5 separate regions of the Homo sapiens genome follow, and all the other regions are linked to region 3. Evidence: promoter capture Hi-C in human tissues and cell types (Jung and others, 2019). All regions are on one chromosome and are shown on one strand. The core of a region is centred on a gene start or on the middle of the fragment in contact, and the rest is flanking DNA. Distances in the headings are between cores, read along the strand shown.

Region 1 (2,856 bases), core at 244-2,743, 130 kb before region 3:
TTTGGCTTCGTGGAAAACTAAAAGCTATTATACTCAGATCAAATTCAAAGGAGATAAAGGAGAGAAGATATTTGTCTCTTTCCCCTGGTCTACTGTGATTCCTAGAATAAGGGGAAGCAATAATTTTCATGTGTTGGGAATTTTAGTTCTTTGTTGACTTGGGCTGCTTTCAAATCACTGACTCAAATATTGGTGGCTACAAGCTTTTATTACCAACTACCTCCTCCCTCAAGCTACTGCCTAGTAAATTTTAAGGGTTTAGCCTCAATGTTCTATTTTACATTCATGGAATTTGAGTAGCTAAATCTGCATGCAGCTTGCAGACAGCTTCCTCTCTCCCTTATTATAGTTGGCTGCTAAGCTCAAATAATAAACATTTAACAAGTGGAATGCCTTTTCCCTTTGGTCTTCTCAGCAGGCTTCATAAGGGACTACAGTTTATTTGGATTTAGGAGAACTGACTTCCATGGGACTCAGTAGTGAGCCTTTTTCAGGATTGGTCACTACCACTGATTTTTTTCCCCTTTGAGGAAAGAAGAGAAAATTATTTTAGCAAGCACTTTCTCTCTCTGACTTGGCTCCCTCTAGGAGTACAGGATGTGCTATTTCAGTGGTCAGCATTCAGTAAGAAAAGAAATTGGGGATGCATAATTTGTTAACCGAGCAAAATAATCATTCTGCTTAAGGTTAGTTCACCATGTCTTATGGCACAGGAAGTTATATTGTAAAATATTTTATATTTCTTGTAATTTATATTTTCTACTTCAATGGAAATAGAAGTGGTTTAAATGAGATCTATGTATATAGACAGACTACTTACAAAATATATATATATATTACATATACAAATTTGCATTTTGTATTGCAAAAGCTCCTTTTATAACATTAAAAAGCCTACCTAATAGTTTGTTCATTTTCTCTGTCTCGCACACCCATACACACAGACACACACACACACACACACACACACACACAATATTCTAAGATTTTATTTGGAATCATCTAAAACTGAAGAACAGTAAACATTTTAACTCAGGTAGTATTTTTGTTTCTAATAAAGGTTTTTTAAAAATATATTTTTGGAACAGTTTTTAATTTACAGAAAAATTTGTATTACGCAGAGTTCCTATATACGATATGCTGCACCCATTTTTCCCTACTAATACCTTATGTTAGTATGGTACATTTGTTACAATTAATGAGCCAATATTGGTATATTATTATTAATTAACATCCAGGGTTTATTTACATGCCCTTGGTTTTTATTTAACATACTTTTTCTGTTCTGGGATCCCAACCAGGCTACCCCATTACATTTAGGGGTCATGTTTCCTTAGATTTCTCTTGACTTTACTTGTTTTTGATGACCTTGACAGTCGTAAGGAATACTGGCCAAGTATTTTGTAGGAAGCTTGTCTATTGGAATATGACGTTTTTCTTATGATTACGTTTTTCTCATGGGTTTTGTGGAGAAAGACCACAGAGACTTTCATCACCTCATCTTAAGGGCAGATACTGTCAACTGTTTATTTCTTTTCAAAAGTAACTTAATCCTCCATTATGAAAAAATTAGAAAATACAGACTAAAAAAGAAGAAAATAGAAGTCACCAATAATCTCACCTTACTTCCCATGAAGAAAACCACTTTTATATTTCAGTATAAAACTTCCACATCACCTGTTTTGTATGTTTCTAAAAGATAAAATAATATTGATAATATTTCTTTATAATGTCATTTTACTAGTATATTCTGAAATCTTTGAATATTAGTGAATATTTTTATAGATTACTTTTAGTGACTATGTAGATGAATGAACCAGTTTAGCTACTAAATCGCTGTTTAAAAGTTTTACTTATAAATAATGCAATATCATTGTTATAAGCATCCTTGTAGTCAAGTCTTTATTCACATCTTTGATTACTTCCTAAAGAAGTAGAATAATTGTCTTGCTAGAGGGTGTGCACTTATTTGAGGGCTTTGATGCATATTACTAAACAGCCCTAAAGTTTACATTATTACCCACGTCCTGAGGCTGTCCCTATTTCTTGGTAACCTAGCCAGTATTGAGAGTTATCACTTTTCCTGTTTATAATTTTTATATAGTTAGATCTGTCACTGTTTTCATTTATGGTTTCTTGATATTTAAAAATAAGGTATTTCTCTAGTACTTTCTATAGTTTTATTTTGCTTTTTAAATCTTTCAAATTATGAAATATACCATATAAAAAACATGGAACATAAATATATAGCTTAATGAATTATTTGAAAGTGAATATTCGTAGGACCACCACCCAGGTCAAGAAGTAAATATTGCCACGAGCTGCCCATATTCTTTCTTATTGTAACCTTGAGGCTAACTACTATCTTATCTATTAGGGCAATCATTTTCTGTTTTTTTTTTCCCTTAGCTTTTTAATACCCAGTTATTCACACCTAAGCACTACAGATTATTAGATTTGCCTTCATATGAAGGAAACTCATACGTTAGGTGTTTGGGTTTTCTTTTCTTTTTTTTTTTACTGTTTTATTGAGATATTATTTCACATACCATAAAAGACACCCACTTAAAGAATACAGCTCAGTGGTTTTCCGTATATTCACAGAACTGTGCAGTCATCACCACACCTAATTTTACAGCATTTCAACATCCCCCCAAAGAAACTCCATGCCTATTACCAGTCATTCCCATTACCTCTTCCTGCCTCCACAGCTCCAGACAACTAATCTACTAATCTACTTCCTGTCTCTATGGATTTGACAGCTCTGTGCATTTCATATAAATAGAATCGTATAATATGATCTTCTGTGAATTTTCTTTACCATTTCTTCTCAAGCATGTCTGCTGCTGACAGAGT
Region 2 (3,079 bases), core at 567-3,066, 180 kb before region 3:
AACTTATGGGAATGGTTGCTTTAAAATGGTAATGAGGAATGAGAAAATTGTTGACTAGGGACTACAGAGTTTAAAAGCACCTTTTCTCCTAGCCCTTTGGGAAGCCAAGGTGGGCATTGGCGCTCAGGAGTTTGAGACTAGCCTGGGCAACACGGTGAAACGCCATCTCTACTAAAATAAAAAAAATTAGCCAGGCATGGTGGCACGTGCCTGTAGTCCCAGTTACTCGGGCTGAAGCACTAGAATTGCGTGAACCCAGGAGGTGGAGGTTGCAGTGAGTCGAGATCGTGCCACTACACTCTAACCTGGGCCACAGAGTGACACTCTGTCTCAAAAAAAAAAAAAAAAGTACCTTTTCTTTTTTCAGCAAAGTATCTACTTTAGGGATATATCTGGCATTTTCCCCCTTATTATTTATATCTTTCAGGAGAACTACTATAATTTAACCTAAATATATTTGTACTTCTTTTTCAAGGTGAGGACCAAGGATCATGTATTTGATAATGTCGGCCACCTTATCAGATACCATATGGATAACAGTTTGCCAATCATCTCCTCTGGAAGCGAAGTAAGCCTTAAACAACCAGTGAGAAAAGATAATAATCCAGCACTTTTGCATTCCAACAAATGACAGTATTGAAGCACCATCACACTGATATTTCAAGAAACCCCATTTTGTATTAGGACACAAAGATAATTTAAACTTTGTTTGTAGATAAAATAGAGCACAAACTGTGAAGTGCATCTTTCCAAGACCATCATGGACCAGGTCCTCTATAAAATGAAGAACTAACAAAAATTAGTCTTCAGAAATGAAAATCAGAAAAGAGGAAGAGGGTTGGTCATTTTAAAAGAAATTATATGTATGCACGGATGTCACTTTTTAAGGCCATATTGCATTGATAACAAGCTAAAAGCACAACTAAAATTTCACATGCTAACGACAACTTGAATGAACTGCTGGGGCAGTGGTATGTGCCTTTCAACTTGATAATTTGGGGGACATTTTCATATTGGGAGATTAATTCTAAGTATCTTCATGTTCTATGACTATAGAACCATTTGCCAAAAAAAAAAGCTTTTCTTGCTACAAAAAATAAGCAATTTTCTTGAGCCTTATTGACTTTATTACATTTTCTGTTTAGCAGCATTTTTCACTGCAATGTTAAAATAAATATGACATTGAATTCGAACTGTGTGTATGTCAGTGGAATCAAATCAAAAGCCACTAACATGGCTGTCTGTTTCATTGGACTGTCCCATTTGCTGGTTAAAAGGATTGGGGCCCAAATCCTCTGGCCTAGCATTTCTCAGTGTTTGCTATTCAGACTGTCTAAATACAGCATGTGACAAGCTGAAGAAGCCAAATCTATCAGTCATTTCTGATTTCATTATATTCTCCCCCTCTTCCTGCTAAAAAGACAAAAAACAAAAAACAAAAAAAACAAAAAAAACCTCATGAGTGCATGGATTTAAAAGAGGGCAAACAAAACCAGTATTCTTCATATTTACTATTCAAATTGGTTTCATTCTTAGTAAAAGTACAGAATCTATTTGAAATTATAGTAAAATTTCTTCTTGATTGGCTGACACTGAATCATAGTTTCTCACCTACATATATCCTTAGCACCTCGTATAGATATGATCAGACAAAATGCAGAAGGAAAAAAAAACATATTGAATGAAGCACTTGGAAAGATTTTCCACATGTAGACCAACTGGTAAACTAACAGAGTGATTAAGCATGGTGTACAGAAAAGCATTACGCTGAGTCTTACCAGTGTGACCTTCAGCAAGTTGCTGAATCTGTTTGGGTTCCAGTTTCCTTGGCAATAAAATGAGCTAAATGGGCTAGGTGAATTTGGAGGACTACTTCAGTCCTAACTTATAGTATGAGTCTCTAAAAAGCAAGTTTTTCATTTGTTAGAGGTCGTTATTGATAACCAGTCTGTATAGTTAAGGTAAAAAATTAAGCTTTTCTTCTATAGTCTGTGTCCATACTCACAGAATGAATGGCACACCTGAGATCAACATTCACATAGTTTAGACTCCAAACCATTCAGTCTAAAATACTGAAACTTTGGAATATAGGGAATGATGATAAAAGTGGATTTGGTTTGAGTAGCAGAAAACTACTTATGTCCTTTTCTTGCCTTTCCAAGAAAAATGTTTTTTGTTTTTTTTTTTAATCTTGAGTTATCTGGATATTGCCTTGACTCCATTTCATTTTGGCTATGTAGATACAACTTAGTCTTTGTGATTGTGATATATTTGCTAAGTTTTAAATAAAACTTCTTTTGGATAGAAATCATTAGAAACCAAGCATACTGCACTCTAATATTTTACTGTAAAGGCTTATGATTTTTATTTCTACTGCCATTAATTTTTTAGATGGATTTGTTTCCTCTTACACAACTAGAATTAATGTATTTTTCACCAGTTTTCCATATACCTTAGGTCTTGATCGTTTGTCCTTAAAAAGGGGATCAGCATGAGTATAGACAGTAGAAATGTATGGGTAGTCTAACCACTTTTATCAGAGACAGAGCAGGGCTGTGGTCTCACTCTAGCTGAGCAGAGTATTAACTTGGTAGCAAGAGTTCCTGATACAAATAGATGCAATGACTGTAAATGGTGTCAGCAGTACACATGGATAATCAGTATTTGACTGTAATAGTATAGTAGTTAAATACAGCACTTAAAAATACCACAGACACAGTTAAAGCAAAAGGAAACAATAAAAGGAATGTCTGCATGCTATTTTAATCTCACATTCTTTATCTGTCTTAAAGTGGAAATCCATTTGCCTATAAATACCTGTAAACGACTTTAAAAAATAAATGATTATTGCTTTGTGACAATTGACAGAATATGTCTGATGTTTGGGATTTGGAAACTGTCATTTGTAAAATGTATCAGGGAAACACATTGGCTCAATCAAACTGGATAATTCAAGGTGAGTTTATTAAAGGGACTATTTACAAAGGTGTGGGCAGAGTTTAGGGAAATCAGGAGGGAGAATGCAGTGCCTTGGGGCCAATTAAGGGAGAAAGGGAAAGAACAGCTAACAGAATCTGGA
Region 3 (3,056 bases), core at 30-2,529:
CATTACAACCCTGTGTGGTGGACACTACAAGTCCCATCTTGTATTTGGAAAGAAGTTGAATAACTTGCCCAGGTCTCTCTACCCTACTGTCTGGGCCCCTTTACAAACGGTTACAAATAAGGAAAATCCCTTTCAACAAGATACATTCCCAGGGTACCTGTTTGTGCTGAGCTTTTATTATTGGCTTGACAGCAGGCTGGTGGCTGCTTGCAGGGGATCTTCTGGGGGTCTCCAGTTACAGCAGCCAGGACCCAGTGTGCGACTTCAGGCCTTCCTAAACTGTTACAGGGTGCAGGCATCATTGGGCATTATCCATATAAGGATGCCACAAATACTATACCTTTCAAAGCCACTAAATTCACTGTGCCGCGCATATCCTGGGGAGAGGCAGCTGTGTGTGGGGGAGGGCGAGGGGACCGGGAGGGTGTAAGTAGAGTCCTCCAGATGAACCCCAGTCTTAATCTGGGCTGGGCAAGAGGACCATCCCTTCACCGCTCCCATCCTACATCCTAGGTTCCAACATTTACAGGCCCCTGGGTTGGACACCGACTTAGAGAGAGCACCCTGGATTCAGGCCTGGGTGGCTTGAATTGAGCCTCAGAAGAGCCGCGTCTGGAGTGGGCTCTCGACACCCAGGGCAAGTGGGGGCGGCAGAGCCCTCTCCTCGGTCGGCACAGCAGCCTCTGCCGCGGTCCCGGCCTGCGACGCGCCCAGTCTTAGCCTCCCGGCCTCCGGCGTCTGCTGAGTGTCCGGCGGGAGAGGCGCAGGGAGCGCGCTACCGGGAGGCGCGGGCAGCGGGGACTGGTTTTCTCTCGGGCCAGGGCCTCCGGGGCAACCGTCTCCAGCGCGCATTCTTGGTGCAGGTGGAACAGCTTTCTGCTCCGGTAGGGCTTCACCTATCGCGGGAGAGGTTAATCTCGGATCTAAACCTCGCAGCCGCAGAGCGGGCTAAAACCGCTACTCCACCTCTTCCCATTTCTCCCCTCCCCACCTCAAGACAAAAAGTCCCAGGCCGGGCAGGACCTGATCACCTCTGCCTCCTCCCACTGCGCTAATCCTGCGAGCGAGAGGCCCCGCACCGAGGCGGAGGCTGGCAAAGGGGAGTGGAAAGGGAGGATGGATGGGGCCGGGGGGTGGGGTGGTGATGAGGGCGACGAAGGAGGGGGTGTCATTTTCTTTTTCTTTCTTTTTTTAAAAAAAGTATTTCTCTCGCGAGAAACCGCTGCGCGGACGATACTTGAAGAGGTGGGGAAAGGAGGGGGCTGCGGGAGCCGCGGCAGAGACTGTGGGTGCCACAAGCGGACAGGAGCCACAGCTGGGACAGCTGCGAGCGGAGCCGAGCAGTGGCTGTAGCGGCCACGACTGGGAGCAGCCGCCGCCGCCTCCTCGGGAGTCGGAGCCGCCGCTTCTCCAGTGGGTGCAGCCGGGGTCCCGACGGGGGTCGGGCGGCCACCGGGGCTGGAGCTGCGGCCACGGAGGCTTTTGCGTTTGCGCCGCGCCGAGGGCAGGGACAGGGACTGGGGTGAGGGGCTGTCCCGGAACGTCCACAGCTGGCGCTGGCCCTCCCCTGCCTGACAGCTTCCTGGCCCGGGGCTCTTGGTGCCGGGCTCCGCGTCAGATGTTCGGGGGGCGGTGGCATCGCCCGGAGTCGGCGGGGACGGCGCGGCTGGCTTCCAGCCTGGCGGAGAGGGCAGGCTGAGGAGTGGGGCGTTCAGAGCGCGCATCGCGCGCAATTCGTGCCGCTAAAAAAAATAAACCCAGAGAGCTCGCCCGGGGCTTAGGACCGCTGGGGATATGGGTACTTTGCGCCGCGCTCTTCTGGCGGGGCCCGGGAGGCCGAGGGATCGGCCGGGGCTGCTGCCGCCGGGGGCCTGGGCTTTCCAGCCAGCTGTGGACCAAACGGTCTTCCCTTACCCAAATTAACTGCGCCACGCGCAGGCGGCGCACGGGTTGGGCTTGGGAATGGGGACCGCGAGGCTTCAGCATCCCGATGCCCTGAAAGTCTCCCCGCCTCGGGGATTTGTCTCTGTGTTGCAGCTGGCAGGGGCCGCCTGAAGTGGGAGCAGCGCCTGGAGAAGGCGGGAGGAGCCCGGCCCGGGGGACGGGCGGCGGGATAGCGGGACCCCGGCGGCGCGGTGCGCTTCAGGGCGCAGCGGCGGCCGCAGACCGAGCCCCGGGCGCGGCAAGAGGCGGCGGGAGCCGGTGGCGGCTCGGCATCATGCGTCGAGGGCGTCTGCTGGAGATCGCCCTGGGATTTACCGTGCTTTTAGCGTCCTACACGAGCCATGGGGCGGACGCCAATTTGGAGGCTGGGAACGTGAAGGAAACCAGAGCCAGTCGGGCCAAGAGAAGAGGCGGTGGAGGACACGACGCGCTTAAAGGGTAAAGGAACCGGTTCCCTCCTTTGGTGTGGGTCTCCCAAGTTTCAAGATCCAGAACAACGGGCAGGATGACTCTCCCTGTGGAAGACTCCTTGGCAAGACCTCCTGGGGGCACCTTAGAGGTGCTAGGGTTGTTTAGTCCCCACCCCGTTCGTGGTTAAACTACCTTGCCCCTACTCCCAGAGATTTCTGCCCCAAAGGAGAGGACGTGGTTAAATGGAATCTTGGGCCATTGTTGAGGCAGATTTTGGGAGGCGAGAAGAGTTCCTTGGGGAAGAAGGGGAGGAGTTGCGAGTGGGATAAGAGGAGAAGCCCGTTCCTTTCCCTGCAATATCAATTCTGGTTGTTTCTAGAGGAAAGTACTTTCCTTGGGGTCATCTTGGTAGATGCTGTATTTGAAAGGGGGCAAGGAAAGGAAGGGATTCCCATGACAGTCAGAGGAGAAATCACACAGTAGTTGACTCTTCCGTAAATTATGCTTATTAAAATTACGGATTGGGTTTTCTGGGCAATGCTTCCTTTAGATGTCTACATTGGAAGCAGAACAGGGCAAGTGGTTCTGAGAACTGGTTTTTTGAGTTGTGTGGGGCTCTCCGTTTCACTGCAGCAGTAAGGCTGCTGTGGCCGGCCTTAAGGGAGTATTTTTAACTAGTGGTGTTTGTGTTGTGTACATGC
Region 4 (2,836 bases), core at 220-2,719, 160 kb after region 3:
AGGTGGATCACGAGGTCAGGAGATCGAGACCATCTTTGCTAACATGGTGAAACCCCGTTTCTACTAAAAATACAAAAAAAGTAGCCAGGCACGGTGGCGGGCACCTGTAATCCCAGCTACTCGGGAGGCTGAGGCAGGAGAATGGCATGAACCCGGGAGTTGGAGCTTGCAGTGAGCCGAGATAGTGCCACTGCAGTCCGGCCTAGGCAAAAGAGTGAGACTCCGTCTCTAAAAAAAAAAAAAGAAAAGAAAAAGAAAAAGAAAGTGGTATACAGTGAAGGATTTTGATCACTTACGAATTAGAATTAACAAACCTTTAAATATTGAACTTTATAGTTTATAGTGTAAATAAATAATATGGAATGGAACCGGGAATTCAAAGCCAAAAGTATTTTTGTAATTAAGGATGTCAGTTAATGCTATTCTGAGTCTTAGTTTATTTGTTTAGGAAGAATCAGTATTTAATGAGAATCTTCTTCTAGGTTCTTCAGTTGAAAGATGCTTCAGTGTTTAATTTAGGATTCACTTAAAAATAATTTATCTTAATATGGGCAGTCTGAATATAAAGCTGAATATAAAGACTTCAAAAACTTTCTAACGTTAGAGGAAACCCAGGGAGTTAGATATATTGTTAATGACCCCATTGTGAAGGAGAAAGAGAAGGAAGATACATCTTACATTTCAATTACACTTCATTATTTTCAGATGCATAATCTCAGTTGAGCTTCACAGAACCTTCTGAGAGATGAGTGCAACATCCTGTAACAGATGTGGAAATTCAGGTTTAGGATAATTTATTGAAGACAATCCACTGAGTTACAGAAGAGGACCAAAATCCAGCTCTTCTGACCTCTGCTCTGCTAGGCTTTCTGCTCTTCTTTATAATCCCATGAATTTGGGTTTGGGGCTAGAGGTATCCCACAAGTACCTTGAAGAATGTGCCCTTAAGCACGTGTTTAGGTGAAAGAAATATTTGAGAAGTAAAGTGAATGGCTTTTCTTTGCATTTTTCTCTTTAATCTCAAGTAAAGCAGTCCTCTTTCCAGAGTTCATCATTCCACCTTTCCAAAAATGAAGTGGGTCGGAGGAAAAGGTGATTGCACTAGGGCAGACACGCTCCAACAATAAAGAGTACAGTTGGCTTTTAGCTGTGGAGGACATGCCAAGACATCATGGCATGCACGCATCGGTGATAGGTATTTCTGTACAGGAGAAAAACATCTCCCGAAAGAACACTGTGGGATCTCTCAGAATACCATTCCTTATGTAGAATTATCAGATGTTGAAAGGGAACTTTTCAGAAGTAGGAGGTGCAAACATGGGCTGACAAAGAGAGTCTTTATTAGGCAAGGATACTTACCCCAGAGCCTGGGGTTTTTTTTGAGGAATAAAACTAATTCCAGTCAATAAGTATACAGCAAATTATTATGTGTGCAGTATTTTACCTAACAGAGTGTTGGCAGTTTGGGGCAGTGGAAGCCGTGTGGCTCTATTTAACCTCCCTTGATTCCCTCTGACAGATATCCGCCTGGAAACCTGCTTCCTGAGGTACGAGGACGAGGAGTGCACCCTGCCTATTGCTGGCCGCCACCGCATGGACGCCTGCTGCTGCTCCGTCGGGGCAGCCTGGGGTACTGAGGAATGCGAGGAGTGTCCCATGAGAAATACTCCTGAGTACGAGGAGCTGTGTCCGAGAGGACCCGGATTTGCCACAAAAGAAATTACAAATGGAAAGCCTTTCTTCAAAGGTACAATGTTACGTTTTCCATGGCCAATTGCCTCCCTTTTTAGACAAATAGGATGCATTTTCATGATCTCAGCACTCTACTTGATCATCCCAGCATGGACTTTTTGCTTTCTGAATTATATAATTATCTTTGTTTAGAAAAGTATGAACTTTTTGTTTTTAACTGTTTGGTCCAAGAAGTCCTGGGGGTTAAAATTGTTCTGTATGGAGAGATAGTTTCAGATAGTTTCTAGGTGGCCCTCTTAAATGTCAGTTACGTAAACTCAAAGGAACTTTAATTTTGCTTCCAAAAGCTATGGTAATTCATTGCTGAAGAAGGACTTGGTGTTCTGGAGATTTAATCTCCCAGTTCTGTCTTACATGTAGAAATTACTTGCGTATTTCTTGAGTGTTTGGTCTTGTTTTGGAAAAAGGCCCTGTAGTGGGAAACTCAGGTCACATGTTACATGTATGCAGTTTTCTAGTGTACAAGAAGCTCTTTAAATTATATTAATGAGATCTTGAGCTGGATGCGGTGGCTCATGCCTATAATCCCAGCACTTTGAGAGGCCAAGGTGGGCAGATTACTTGAGTCCAGGAGTTCAAGACCAGCCTGGGCAACATGGTGAAACCCTGTGTCTACAAAAAAAAAAAAAAAAAAAAAAAAAAAAATATCTAGGCATGGTGGTGCACACCTGTAATCCCAGCTACTCAGATGGCTGAGGCACAAGAATTGCTTGAATCTGGGAGGCAGAGGTTGCAGTGAGCCAAGCACACCACTGTACTCCAGCCTTGATGACAGAGCAGATCCTGTCTCAAAAAAAGAAAGAAAGACATCTTAAGGTATATACATTAAGAAAATATTTTTAAATTGTACAAATTATTTGCAAATAATTTAAATTATAAATTATATCTTTGAAATTTTTATATTTTTGGCATATCCAAAAAAGCACCAAACAGTATTAAGTGAATATCTCATTCTGCTACACAGTCAATTGATAGCTGTAGGATAATATATTCTAATAATGTTCTATGTGCTTTAAATATAGATACTAGTGGTTTAGAATATATTATCTATTCACTCAGCAAGTAGTGGTTAAATATTCACTAT
Region 5 (2,970 bases), core at 19-2,518, 240 kb before region 3:
TGCTACCACTGGAAGTTCTAAAATAAATACAAAGAAATACTAATGCCTTCCCCATCCCCACTTAATTTCTAAGATATGCTTTGGACTGAAAACAAAGGTTCAAATTTATGGATATATTCATAGATGATAGCATTTATGGAACGGATAGTTCACATTTATCTTTGGCCACTGAGAACATCAAGAATATAACAATTCATTCCCAGAAAATATTTTACAAACCTCCAGAGGCAGAAAATATTAAACATGCGATGCTTGCAATTTTTAAATATTACCATATTTCAGGATGGGAATACATTTTTGCAAGGGTAAGTTATAGGTATTTCCTTGTTTTAAAATTCAAGCAACAGACTTTATTGACATACTTTAATATAGTATTTTAGGGCCTCAAGCAAAGTCAGAGTCTCAGTTGCTCACACTCCCACTAATTCTTTACTGATTTCTACAACTCTAACAGGTACTGAATTCAGAAGGGTAATAGAGTTAAGGTAAAACAGGCAAAAATTGAGACATCCTTTAGTCTCTACAAGGAGAGGCAACTTGAGATATTTAGAGGCCAAGTAGGTAATGCAAGCTGTGCAAGCACAAGAAAAAACAATGGTGCAGGCCCAATGATAAATGTCAAGTGCTACCTGGCCTCTGTGTTGGGGAGACAACACTGAGGGACTTGGCAAACAGAATCTTCCTTATCTAAAGGTGAATCAGATGGTTTTTTTTTTTTTTTGCTTTGTTTTTTTGTTTGTTTGTTGGCTACATAGGTCTATAGGTCAAAGGCTCCCAGATCTTTTACTTTAAAAAAATAATAATAAAAAGGTAAGAATCTAGATTTTTAGCTGCTGTCTCTGTACTGAGATGTTGGTCTCTTAAAATTATAAGCATGAACCAAACAAAATAGATCTGTGGCCTGAAGACAGTCAACATGGGATATCTGATCTAAGCGAACATTTATAATATGTATGGATAAATTTGGAAAACTCTCCCTAATCACACCGTGTACTCAAAATCTTCTTTAAATCCCCTACCTTGCAAAATCAGAATTTCCCCAGAACTCCTTTCTCTAGCTTCCTTAAATGAAGACACACACACACACACACACACACACACACACACACACTCTCACACACATCATCATTTAGTCCTCACAATTTGTAAGGTACATCCAATTGTTCCTATTTTCAGTTTAGGACATGAGCCAGAGAGATTAATTTCCCAGTTACTGAGCTAATAAATAGTAGAACCCAAATTTTAACCAAGTAGTCTGGTTTGTCTGTGGCAACTGCATGTAAAAGAAACACAAATAATTTTACACCCCTAAAAGGGGTGTTAAAATGTTTTCTATCCTCAATAAATACAAGTAAGTATTTACAATTTTCATTGTCTCTCAGCTTACTGCCTATTTTTAAGACTGAAAAACAACCAAGTCAATTGCAGAGCCCAGGTTTTTCTCCCCAAGATGGGCCTTCAGATGGAATAGTGTTTCCCACCCCCACCTCTTTGCCCTACTCAGTCCCAGAGAAAAACAGAATCACAACCTTCTAGTTTGTGGACCTCAGATTTTTTTTTCCAAGAGTTTATCTTTCCTAGTAAAGATAAACTTTCCTGGTAAAGATAAAGATCTGGAGGTAAATACAACCAGCCAGTTTATTGTGCACTAGCATACCCCCACCCACACTAATTTACATCATCCATGCAATTAATTACCTATCCACACTCATCTGACCGTAGCTGCACGCTAATTGAGAAAGCAGTGGAAGAGGCAGTAGGATTAAGTCTAAGCACCAACATTTTACTTCCACCATCTCTCCCTCCTAACCCAGCTAGTGTCTGAGCAATTCTGATCAGCCTTGTCACAGTCCTATCTTTTACAGATCTCTCTCCCCAAAAGACAGGATGACCATAAAATAAATAAGGCTCTGAATTGTCCTGTTGCATTGGATATTCGTTCTTTACTGCTATAATGGAGCAGAAGCATTTGGAACATTTTTACTGATCATGATAAAACCTGCTGATACACTTATTTTGCTGAACCTAGCCTTCTGATGTAATCATTACTCTCCTAGAACTTCAGCATCTTAGTAAGGTAACCACGGCAACATACTCATTGATAGGGCAGGTTTTCCCAGACCAGCAAATTCTTATAGGCAAAAACTTAATTTACAAAGTTTAATTTCCAGAAATTAATTTGTGAATTAGATAGCTGAAGCTGGATCATTTTCCCTTAATACTGGTTAACACATACAATAGAAAGTAGTATACAGAGAAAGTATGTATGCAATACTATTAGCCAAACAAAATACACAGAACAAGAAATTTTATTATCTCCAATGCTGGTGCATGACAAATAACAAGCTTAATTAGAGGAGGAGACAGAGGGAAACTTCAGATACCAAGGTAATTTCTGGGCAGGTTTAAAACCTTTAAAAGTTGATAGAATAACTGTTCATAAAGTCTTTTTAGATATAGCGCTTTTTACTTGACAACTTTTATTAACAGTTCTTACAATATGAAGTTCAACTAAAGTCCTTCATCTGTCAAGTTAAAACAGCAAGCAAAACAAAATTTCTCTAGTATATAACAGCATAAGCAATGGTTTGTTTTCTTTGTACATTCACACACATTTAGTGTCTAGATTTGAAACTTTTTAATTAAGGATGTCTTAATTTTTGACTTTTAAAAATGGTTATGACAATGGATTTTCTTGATTTATAGATCACAGTGGCTTTATAAATGATCAAGATACATGTACAAACAAAATTTCAGATGCTCTTGGAAACACATCTTAAGATACAAAGCACACGTGATACATATTTGAGTTTACTCATCCATTTATCTTACACTGAAAATGTAGCCTTTGATAACTGTGGCTTGACTAGATCACAAAATAGAATTTTCCAAGTTTTCTTAAGCTTTCAGTCCAAATAACTCAAAAGATATGTGTCCTAGTTGGATACATTTTTTTCTCATTATATAATT

Evidence for each region. Contacts are between HindIII fragments. The study calls those that stand out against the background at their distance.
Region 1: a contact is called between a fragment that was not itself captured here and the fragment with the promoter of FBN1 in region 3, in 2 of the 25 tissues and cell types used here (hippocampus and liver).
Region 2: a fragment that was not itself captured here is called in contact with the fragment with the promoter of FBN1 in region 3 in 3 of the 25 tissues and cell types used here (IMR-90 fibroblasts, mesenchymal stem cells and mesendoderm cells).
Region 4: a contact is called between a fragment that was not itself captured here and the fragment with the promoter of FBN1 in region 3, in 5 of the 25 tissues and cell types used here (bladder, hippocampus, lymphoblastoid cells and 2 more).
Region 5: a fragment that was not itself captured here is called in contact with the fragment with the promoter of FBN1 in region 3 in 1 of the 25 tissues and cell types used here (IMR-90 fibroblasts).

The regions. Positions count from the first base shown.
Region 1 is chr15:48,775,586-48,778,441 of GRCh38, reverse strand. The region is part of intron 12 of CEP152 (centrosomal protein 152); the gene reads left to right. Among named protein-coding and RNA genes, the nearest start is that of CEP152, 34 kb to the left of the region's middle. The HindIII fragment of the contact is 3,954 bases long and covers 1-2,856 here.
Region 2 is chr15:48,823,523-48,826,601 of GRCh38, reverse strand. SHC4 (SHC adaptor protein 4) reads left to right here. Exons shown (of 12, transcript NM_203349.4): 12 at 476-2,861. The coding sequence ends at 631. Among named protein-coding and RNA genes, the nearest start is that of CEP152, 14 kb to the right of the region's middle. The HindIII fragment of the contact is 4,959 bases long and covers 1-3,079 here.
Region 3 is chr15:48,643,932-48,646,987 of GRCh38, reverse strand. It overlaps FBN1 (fibrillin 1), which reads left to right and starts at 1,279. Exons shown (of 66, transcript NM_000138.5): 1 at 1,279-1,413; 2 at 2,038-2,382. The coding sequence starts at 2,219. FBN1-DT (FBN1 divergent transcript) reads right to left here and starts at 1,183. Exons shown (of 2, transcript NR_183872.1): 1 at 158-1,183. RefSeq lists enhancers at 1,115-1,204, 717-1,241 and silencers at 1,315-1,394, 1,435-1,614, 2,025-2,154, 2,255-2,304. The HindIII fragment of the contact is 10,434 bases long and covers 1-3,056 here.
Region 4 is chr15:48,488,762-48,491,597 of GRCh38, reverse strand. It overlaps FBN1 (fibrillin 1), which reads left to right. Exons shown (of 66, transcript NM_000138.5): 25 at 1,520-1,747. Among named protein-coding and RNA genes, the nearest start is that of FBN1, 160 kb to the left of the region's middle. The HindIII fragment of the contact is 8,940 bases long and covers 1-2,836 here.
Region 5 is chr15:48,879,127-48,882,096 of GRCh38, reverse strand. All of the region lies in intron 4 of SHC4 (SHC adaptor protein 4), which reads left to right. It overlaps EID1 (EP300 interacting inhibitor of differentiation 1), which reads right to left. Exons shown (of 1, transcript NM_014335.3): 1 at 1,924-2,970. Among named protein-coding and RNA genes, the nearest start is that of EID1, 2.5 kb to the right of the region's middle. The HindIII fragment of the contact is 4,319 bases long and covers 1-2,970 here.